Regions from separate parts of the Homo sapiens genome. Here region 2 is linked to region 1. Evidence: promoter capture Hi-C in 16 types of primary human blood cells and fetal thymus (Javierre and others, 2016). All regions are on one chromosome and are shown on one strand. Each heading gives the region's core, a stretch centred on a gene start or on the middle of the fragment in contact. The rest is flanking DNA. Distances are from core to core; before and after follow the strand shown.

Region 1 (4,961 bases), core at 1,476-3,975:
AGTTTGTGGGGAAGGCTCAAGTCATATGATGACATGACAAGTAACATGCTGTTGCTGAGGCAGCGGGGTGGGGCACAGGTCCAAGGAGTTACAAACTGGCTCGGAGTGTTCCGCTCAGACATTTTAGAGCTTTTTGGAATACATAGCCATTCTGATTAACAGGCAGTTTTAAGGCTCAAGGGGTGCCAAAACCTGGCATTATTTGATATTTTTATTACTTACTGGTCAAACGTTAACATCAATGGAAGTAAAAAGAAGTTCATTCTTAGTTTGGTCTAACAAACTGTTTTTACATTTCCTTATTCCCTTTCAGCCCTTGTTGAAATCCATAAATCCATGGACATGATAATACTTGCAGATTAGATATAATTGAATATTCTACATCTTTCTCACACACAGATGCAGAGAATGATGTTAAGAGCAGCAATATTCAAAACCCAGGCGCTGTGACAACAGCCCCTTCAGGCCTGTAGACTGACAGTCCCGTAGAAGATGTTGGCAGGGCAATGAGACACACCCTGCTCTGCCTGTGTTATTTATGCCTCTGGCAGTGAAGCCCCTGACAAAGAAGCATGTCACTGGAACACATGCTCTTTGTTCACAGAGGTGCATGCCAGCACCGGCTGCGTAAGAACGGACAGTGCCGTGTCTGTAGTCTCTCCTCCTTTGGCTCTTTTGCCTTCTATTTGCAGCACATTGTGGCTATGTTTATTAATTACTTTGTGGCTTAATACTATAAAACACACATCTATCCTGTGAGCTATGTACCCTAGGGAAAGAGTCCTTCATACCCTCCAGTTGGCCATAAAGAGAGGACAGAGTCTCAAGATTTGCCCTGATGCTAAGGATTAATACCACCTCCTCCGGGAGCCATCAGGTTACCACTCTCTAGCACAGAGCTACCACGTTTAAGACTCCTTCAGCACCATCCCCCCTTTTCCTGCACGAGGACACTTGCATGCTGTTTGGTATTAAAAGCCCTCTGCAACTGTTCCCAACCTACAGCACCAAAGTAGCCCCCCACCATGCTATGACTCCACTCTAGCCAGACTGATGATGTAGCACAAGATGGTGGGCTGTGGAGTCAGACCTATCTGGGTGTAAATCCTAGCTCTGCTTCTTGCTGGACGTGCAGCTTAAGATTCCTGAGCTCCTCATCTGTAAAATGATTAAATTATCACCTACTTCAGAAAGTTGTCTGAGAATTAGAGAAATAATATCAAGCCCCTTAAAGCAGATCCTCAATAATCGCTTGTTGGCTCATGAAACCGATTTTTTGTTTTGTTTTGTTTTGTTTGGTAAAAGCCCTCATTGCATAGCCCTGTGGTTCTCATAACCTTAGTTACAGACCTTTTGTAACCCTGAGAACATCTGTCTCCATTTTCCCTTGTCATAAAGACGTCTGCTGAGACTACAAACGGAGTCAGGGAACTACTACCAGAAAGTTTTTCTTTTCCCATATTCCTTCTAAAACTTTCATCTTCAAATGTTAACTCACTCAGTATTTTAAAAGCTGATATATAATTGGTTTACAACTAAATTTGGGTTGTTTGCCACTAAAACTTAGGTAAAATAGGAAAGGGGGCACTTTCTTAACTTCCATAAAACTTCATGTTAATACATAGAATTTCAAGTTTTTCTTTAACAAATTGTTCTTAGTTTTTGGTGCTTCTTGTCAGTACGATCTTCTTAGATTGTATTTGATTTGACACATTATGTATTTACTTATTGTACGCTGAATATAACGTCATTCCCCGGTGTTCTGCAAAGCACAACACTCATCCCGATCTGGTGCTCTAACCCCTGGGACCCTTTGGGCCAGACCATGACAAAGGCTGCCTGCCAGGTTTCAGCGAAACTTAGACCACCAAGAATTTACACACTTCACAGGGGTGCCCTAAGGAATAAATGAGATTAAAAAAAAAAGTCTGCGGGGAAACCCTGAGGCCCTATTAGAAATGCTAATCGTTTCCTTCTCTAGCTCCTATTAAAATGTTAGAAAACCGAGGGAGACTCTCCTGAACAGGGTGGGGATGCTCGGCTGCTCTGTGGCTTAGCAAGCGACCCCAGCTGCCCTGCCAGGGCCGGTCGGCCGCGATTCCGTCCCGACGGGGGGGATCCTCGGCGGCACTACGGACGCCAGTCTGCCAAGGAGGCAGCGGGGTTCGGCCTGTTGGCCCCAGACTGTGTGGCAGGCAAAAGGTGAACGTCAAAGCCTGTCCCCGGCTTCTTCACATCTCGCGCCTCCGCGGGCGTCGGGCCGCCCCCGTGAGCCTCCCCGGATGGACTGGGTTTTAGGGACCCCCGCAGCCGGACTGCAAAGCTTCCCACCAACCCTTCCCGCGAACCTCCCAGCCCGGGCCGCAAGCCCAGCTCCGGGCGCGACGACGTGGGGCCGGAGGTAGAAGGAGTCTCAGCGCGGCGGGGGCCGGGGGGCGGGGAAGCCCCCCCACCCACGAGAAAGGTCTTACATCAGCCGCCCCACGTGCAATCGGAGAGAGGGAGGAAGTCGCTCCTCTATTCGGGCTGCGCCTTTCCCCAGCCTCCGCCCCGCCCGCCGCGAGTCTCCCCGCCCCGCCTTGGTGCAGCCGCGGCCGCCGAGCCGAGCAGCGCCGCGCGGGGCCGAGTGGAGCCGAGCAGCTGCCGCGCCGCGTCGCCGGTTTAAGCGCAGTGCAGGCCGCGGCCGGGGGCGGCGGTAGTGAGCCCAGCGCTGCGCTCCAGCCCCCTTTTCCCTCCATGGTTTCTCTCCGCTCCCGTGAGTAACTTGGCTCCGGGGGCTCCGCTCGCCTGCCCGCACGCCGCCCGCCACCCAGGACCGCGCCGCCGGCCTCCGCCGCTAGCAAACCCTTCCGACGGCCCTCGCTGCGCAAGCCGGGACGCCTCTCCCCCCTCCGCCCCCGCCGCGGAAAGTTAAGTTTGAAGAGGGGGGAAGAGGGGAACATGGACATGAAGAGGAGGATCCACCTGGAGCTGAGGAACCGGACCCCGGCAGCTGTAAGCAGAGACCCCTCTGGGTGCCCTCTCCCCCGATGACTTGCATGTAATGGTGGCCACCTGCGGGGCCCGGGCTGAGGGTTCGCCGGCCCCGGCGCGGGGAAGAGCGCAGCTCGTGGGCTCGGACGGGGAAGGCGGGCGGGCGCGGAGGGGGGAGCGAGCGCGCGAGGATTAACTCTTTGCCGCCCGCGGGCCCCTGGGGCGGCCGGGGGGAGGCAGCGGTGTGGGGGAAAGCAAACTTTGAGCGCTTCGCCCGCCGGGGTCTTTCCCCTGAGGGAGCGCGTGTGCAAGTGGCCGGCGGCGAGAGAGGGAGGCGGGGGTTGTGTAACGCTGGGAGCCATGTTTGCAGCCTCCCGGGATGCGCGGCCGGGCGGAGGCCCGGCCTGCCGAGGAGCTGCGCGGCCATCCCCGCCTGGGCCAGGCCGGGCTCCGCGCGCCCCGGGCCGGCCGGGGAAGGGGCGCGGGTGGGGCGGGACGGGGGCTCTTGTGGCCGGAGCTCGCCGTGGGCGCCGGCCCGGCCGAGGTCAGCAGTCGTGGGGCGAGGAGGGGGCTTTTTTCTTTTGAAGGGAGCGAGAAGCCCCCTCGGGCGCCTGGAGGCCTGGGCGGGCGCGGCCCGGCGCGCGGAGCGGGGGAGGGGCGGGCCAGGGCGGCGGAGGTGGCGCAACCGCCGCCCCTCCCGAGGCCAAGTTTGAAAAAAGGACGTGGTTCCCGCCATTTTTCAAGCCCAAAAATAAAACTTTCTCCCCCGTTCTCTCGCTCCCTCTTCGCCCTCGGCCTTGCCCACTCCTGCCTCCCAGGGGCAGCCCGGGTCGACCAAGGCCAACCGTTGTGGCGACGGCCTCGCCCTTCCCCCTGTGCCGCGGCGGCGGCGCCCGGGGCCCCTGCCCTTGCCCCGGGAGGCTGGCCCCTCCGTGTGGGCGGGCGGCGGCTCTTCACGCCAGCCGGGGCGCGCCACAGGCCGCCGCAGCGCCATGTTGGCGGGTGCCCGTCTCCCTGCGCCTGGTGAGCCGGCCCACGAGCTTGGCCTTGCCCGCCCGCCCTCGGCGCTGGCTGGCGGCCGCCTCTTCCCGCGCCGAGCCCTCGGTCTGTTTCCCCCCGCCCCGCCGGGGCTTGGCTCCCACTGGCGGGAGCCGCGCGCCGCGGCCGCCGCCGACTCATCCCGTCGCGGGCGCGCTGCCGACCCCCTCCCCCTTCTTAAAAGGGCAACGGCAGGCGGCCGCCCCCGCCCCGCGCCGGGCGCGCGGGATTTTGGGCGGGCTTCGGCTCGGCTCGTGGGCCGGGCGGCCTCTGGCCTCCCACGTGCTTGAGAGCGGCCTGGTGCGGTCGGCCGCGCGCCTTGCGGGCTGTAGGGGCCTGAGGGCGGCCCTCTTGCGGCGCGGCTGCGTGGGCGTGGGTCCGACCTGTGGGAATTGCCCCATTCGTCTCCCGGGTTTAGCGCGGCTGCCCGCCGTCGCGAGCCCCCCCCCCGCCGCGGACCGGCGCGGGCCAGTTAGCGCCGCGGCCGGGTGCCCCAGCGGGCCAGTGGCTTTCCCGCGGAGGGCGGCCCCGCGGGGCCTCCCGACCCGCTCTGGGCTAAGCGAGCGGCCAGGTTTCGTGCCCTCAGGTGGCTGTGGTTAACAAGTCGCGAACTTGTGGGAATTCGTCGACCAGGGTTTACCTGGTGTGCTCGACATTTTAAATCCTTGCTCTCTAGTCTTTGAGGTCACCACTAACGCGGGGCGGGCCGGGCTCCACCGCACGGCGCTGTCCTTCCCGGAGGGCCCGCGAGGGTGGGCCGCTCCGGGGGTTGCGAGATGGAGGGTCGCGGGCGTGCGTTCTTCCGACCTTCCGTCAGACATTTTGTGCCCGCCACGTGCTAGCCTATCGCCCAGCTCGCGCCTCAAAACTTGAGAGGCTTTCTTGGCTTGAGAAGGTGTTTATTCCAGACTTTTCCATTGCGGCGTAATTGCAAATCCGTAGAATATGGA
Region 2 (4,961 bases), core at 1,615-4,114, 220 kb after region 1:
TCCCATTCTCCAGGGGCAGAGTCAAGACGCAGATGGGTGAAGGGACTTGCTCAGGGGCCCCCTGCCCATCCCCTGGCTGCACCCTACCTTCGTCCCCTCGTACAGGAAGGCATCCCAGACCCGAAGGAGGATGTTGCTAATGAGACTGTCCGCAAAGACCACGAGGAACCAGTTGAAGGTGACGAGGGAGAGATCCACGTGGTGCTGCCCCAGATGGGCCATCAGCCTGGGCAGCTTCTCCGAGAGCAGGTCCTGGAGCACCCGCTGGTCCACCTGGAAGCCAGCGAGAGGGCCTGTCATCTGCAGCCCCAGCGTAGGGCTGCCTCCCTCCCTGCCCAGCCTTCCTACCCAGTCAGTCCACACACAATCCTGAAGCTGCTCTGGGCAGGTCCTTTCCTGCCCAGGAGACACCTCGGGGAGCCAGGGGCCAGTCTAGCTGGGAGTCAGGTACAGCATCATATCACTCCGCTGCTCCTAATATAGGCCAGAGTCCTCTGGACTGGGGCACTGGGCTCTGCAGTGGAGCCATGTGGGCTGGCACGTTCTCCGCCCGCTCACCCATCTGAATCCCTTGAGCCAAGCAGGAGGTCAGGGGCCAGCTGATCCTGCTGGCAGTTCAGAGACACTGGTCTCATGCCCAGGGGCCTTGGCGAAATGGAAGCTTTGTCTCTAGGCTTATATCAGCTGACAACCACAGCCCCTTCTCTATACCCAATTTGTGCCTGACACCTAAGATGCTAGGCGGATGTCTGGTCCAGGGACAGGTGTGTGTGGGAACGCATAATGTCCTGCCTCGCCGGACATCAAGGAATCTTCTCAAAACAGGGTGCTCCTGGCGACACTGGCCAGTGACCTCTTCTTGTGACCACTGTCATGCCTCCGTCCTTGTTTCACTGGATGGGTTAACCACTCTCAGCACTGGCTCCAAGACATGGTTCTTTCGTGGTTCTCCTCCTCCCTCTGTGATGACTCCATTTCAGTTTCCCCTTGCTTTTCCTGGAACTGCTCAGTCCTCTCCTCTCACTTATGTCCTCTTCCAGGCATTAGCGTCAGCTGTGGCAAACAGCCAGTAGCTCCCCTCCTCCCTCACCCAGAACCTTGGGTCATCTACCGAGGCCAAGTGTCCAGTTCAAAACCTAAGGTAACTCCCCAAGTCTAAGATGCCATTGACCTACTGAAGGATTTATGGATGAACTGATACAATGCCAGAAATTTACTTCAAGACAAAGCAGGAGGAGCGGATGGGAGTTCAGAAGAAATAACACTGGCTCCCTGGGTTGATAACTGAAGCCAGGTAATGGACACATGGAGGTTCATTATACTATTCCCTCTATCGTTTTGAATGTGGGAAATTTTCCATAATAAAATATGGAAAAAAGGGTCATATAACACACATCAATTTCAGAGATGTTAAGATGTAAAAATTAAATATGTACATTTCCTAACTTGCCTTGCAACTAGGGCAGCCATGAAATAGTTCTGACCAGTAAACTGCAAGTAGAAATTGCTGGGTCAGGGAGCCAGCTCCTGGTGTTCACCTTCTGCTTCTCCTGGCCTAGGCCATGCCCACAGTGCTGGAGGCGATGCAGCCATTTTGTGACCAGGAGGTGATGGGTGTGAGGATGAAGGCCACCTGCCAGAGATGGCAGAGCAGGGAGCTAGGAGCCTGAACCCTGCGGTACTGCCTTGTCATTCACTATCTGAGAATAATAATCCCCGATTGAAGCTGTTGTTAGGTTGGGCTTCTCTTCCATGCAGCCAAATGCACTCCCACAGTGCAGAGGGAGAAATGGAAGCCCGAGAGATTCCCAACTTTCCTGAGAGTCACAGGCTTCTAGGAACAGCTCTGGGGCACTGCCCTACATGGCTGCAAAGTCCCCTCCTGGCCCCACTTACCTGGGATGCCGTCAGCGTGTTGCAGTAGTAATCAGCGGGCATGATGGTCTCCACAATGGCCACCAGGCACCAGAAGGCGCTCTCCTCCTCCTCTAGGACCAGCAGGGCAATGGCCGCCAGCCTGGAGTAGTAGGGAAGGCCTGGAGTGATTACAGAAGCCGTGGCCCTGCCAGGCAGCACATGGCAGAGGTGGCTTCCTGGGTTCCAGGGGGAAAGTCCTTCCATGTGAGCATCAGTGCAATCCCACTCCCTAACCAGATTTGTGCTCCTGGCACCTGGGGTGAGATAAACGCTCTTTTGGGGAGGATGACCGGCGATTTCCAGAGCAATGGGGGTCACTTCAGAGCAGGGGCTCTGAAATCAGGCTGCTTGGGTAAATCCTGATCTTGTGGCTTCCTGGGTGACCTTGGGCAAGTTACTGAACCCCTGTAAGCCTCAGTCTCATAATAATCACAGGACTATTTTGAGGATGAACAGAGCTCATTCAGTGCCCCACACAGTGCCTGCCACACAGTGAGCTCTTTATAAATGTTAGCTATCCTCACCTTAGTATTCACAGGCTTTGAGACCTTGGCAAGTACACTAACCTCTCTGGGCCTTGGTTTCATGATCTGTAAAGTGAGATTAACAATATCTATCCCCCCGGGGCCAAGAGGCATCTTGAGACAGACCTACCTTGCCTCGCTCACTGCCTGGCATTTAGGAGGTGCTCAATGCACATAGCTTTTTTTCTCCTTTACTTCCCCTCCCCGCCAAGTTAGCATAAGGCTCTAATGAAATCATGGGTAAGAAACAAACAAAAACCCACAGGGCTGAGCAGGGAAGTCTTCCTGGGATAAGTACTGTTTTCTCTACTTCTCCCATCTTCCCTGGCAGCTCTCATCCCGGGCCAATCCAAGAAGTCATTTTCCAAAAATGTCTTCCAGGGACTACTGGTCTCCCAAGATGCTAGGTGAACACAAGGTTCTATATTCAAAGATATCTGGGGAATGCTGCCCATTCTAGCCCCTGAGAGGCTTATGACACACACTGTCTTAGTAAAGCCTCTGAGAAGTCCTGTGGTGACAAAACGCTGTGTGGCTGACTCTAACCCAGGGTCGCCCAGGGGGTCCACAGAGCCCCTGTTGTCCATTGCACCCATGGGGGCCTAGTAGAATGAATGTTCCTCAGAGGACCCTGGAGAGATGTCGCTTTAGAAAGCCTCTGACTCTCTGGTCATAACGAGCATTTAAGGAACACATTCCCTCATCCAGATATTTATGCTTCTTTGGGTTCTCTCTAGATTGGATTCATGACCTCCACCTTCTTTTGAGGCTCACAACTCTTAGAAACATGGTTGAATCTCAAAAGAAAAAAGAAATATCCCTTCTCTTTCCCCAGTAGATTGGGAAGGAATTTCTCCCAAATTTGGTTCAGATATTTGTACAAAACCTTCCTAAGTCGAAGCTGAGTGGATGAAGAGAACAGTCACAGGTCTCCTGGGAAATAGGAAGCTCCGTTCTCTCAGAGCTGGTGGGGAGGGACCTCCATAGGTCACTGAGTTCAAGGATAGCAAACGTGAGATACACTGGCCTCTATCCTTTTCGTCTGTGCCCAGGGCAGACATAACTAACTGATCATGGCAGCATTCCCTTTGTCTAAGCCCATGGTAGACATAAGTAATTGATCACAGTACTCTTTCCCACTGAGTCTGAAGGCTGCCTCAGAAACTCTCTCAGGACAGGGCTCCAGGTAGCTGCTTCCTACTGGTCATCTCTGGTCTAAACAAACTCCTTATTGCAGTGGTGGAAAAACCAAGGCTTAGAAAGCAGAAGTTACCTGCTCAACATTACATAGTCAGTTGGTGGCAGAGTGGAAACAGAACCCAGGGCTCCCAAAGTCTAGCCCAGTGCTCTCTCCACTCTATCCCACCCTGTTCCCCCTGAGCCTCAGAATGGCCTCAGTCTAGGGAGTTAGCTGCCAGCATTGGTTTAGACTTCAGCACATGTTAAAAACTCAGTTATCTGAGGCTGGTTGCTAGGGCTTACTAACTGCTCAGGTGTATGGCTGAATTCGAACCTAAGGCATTTAGGGCCCAGGTAGGCTTGCAAAGAAAGGAGTGTGTTGATGGGGGAAAAACAAACCACTTTTAGAGCACTGTACTTATTTTCATAGGTTTAAAACATTTGCTCTAAATTAGCATTAGACCATCACTAAACAAGCTGGATTTGTTGCCTTAGAGGCAGGGTCTGTCATCTTGAGACATCAAACATGCAGTTCCTTTTCTTTTCTTTTTTTGAGACAGAGACTCACTCTGTTGCCCAGGCTAGAGTGCAGTGGCATGATCATGGCTCACTGCAACCTCTGCCTCCTTATCACCTCAGCCTCCCGAGTAGCTAGAACTACAGGCATGTGCCACCACACTTGGCTAGGTTGTTAGGTTGTTTCTTGTTTTTCGTTTTTTTAATTTTTTGTATTTTTTGACAGGGCTTTGCCATGTTGTCCAGGCTGTCTCAAACTCCTGGGCTCAAGGGATCCACCCACCTCGGCCCCTCAAAATGCGGGAATTACAGGCGTGAGCCACGGCGCCGGGCCCACACATGCAGTTCTAATGGCTACCACTAGATGGCAAAGAAGACGTATCAGGGACCTGCAGGCTTGGGTTTAGAGCCTCCAAAAGAATACGTTGCACTTGCCACATTTGAACAGGCTTTCTATTATAAGTAACTTTCTCTTTTTTCGAGATGGAGTCTTGCTCTGTCACCAGGCTGGAGTGCAGTGGTGCGATCTCGGCTCACTGCAACCTCTGCCTCCCTGGTTCAAGTGATTCTCCTGCCTCAGCCTCCTGAGGCAGCTAATTGTTGTATTTTTAGTAGAGACAAGGTTTCACCATGTTGGCCAGGATGGTCTCGATCTTTTGACCTCGTGATCTGCCTGCCTCAGCCTCCCAAAGTGCTGGGATTACAGGCGTGAGCCACTGTGCCTGGCCTATTACAAGTAACTTTCTGTTTTAAGCAGTAAATATTTACATGAATACCAATTATCTGCATTTGCATATCAAATTTAAGTAAAAATGCTATTCAGAG

The links. Contacts are between HindIII fragments. The CHiCAGO score rates a contact against its expected background, and 5 or more counts as called.
Region 2: a fragment that was not itself captured here is called in contact with the fragment with the promoter of ANP32B in region 1 in 2 of 17 cell types (activated CD4 T cells and non-activated CD4 T cells); the score reaches 5.6 in activated CD4 T cells.

The regions. Positions count from the first base shown.
Region 1 is chr9:97,980,616-97,985,576 of GRCh38, forward strand. ANP32B (acidic nuclear phosphoprotein 32 family member B) reads left to right here and starts at 2,726. Exons shown (of 7, transcript NM_006401.3): 1 at 2,726-2,994. The coding sequence starts at 2,941. All of the region lies in intron 2 of LOC124902226 (a long non-coding RNA gene), which reads right to left. LOC124902225 (a long non-coding RNA gene) reads left to right here and starts at 4,821. Exons shown (of 2, transcript XR_007061685.1): 1 at 4,821-4,906. RefSeq lists silencers at 2,296-2,955, 3,106-3,195, 3,386-3,465, 3,536-3,735, 3,746-3,795 and 2 more and an enhancer at 2,596-3,478. The HindIII fragment of the contact is 9,132 bases long and covers 2,322-4,961 here.
Region 2 is chr9:98,201,392-98,206,352 of GRCh38, forward strand. It overlaps TBC1D2 (TBC1 domain family member 2), which reads right to left. Exons shown (of 13, transcript NM_001267571.2): 10 at 1,897-2,017; 11 at 88-273. Among named protein-coding and RNA genes, the nearest start is that of CORO2A, 11 kb to the left of the region's middle. RefSeq lists enhancers at 1-339, 1-34, 340-839, 1,463-1,963. The HindIII fragment of the contact is 4,410 bases long and covers 660-4,961 here.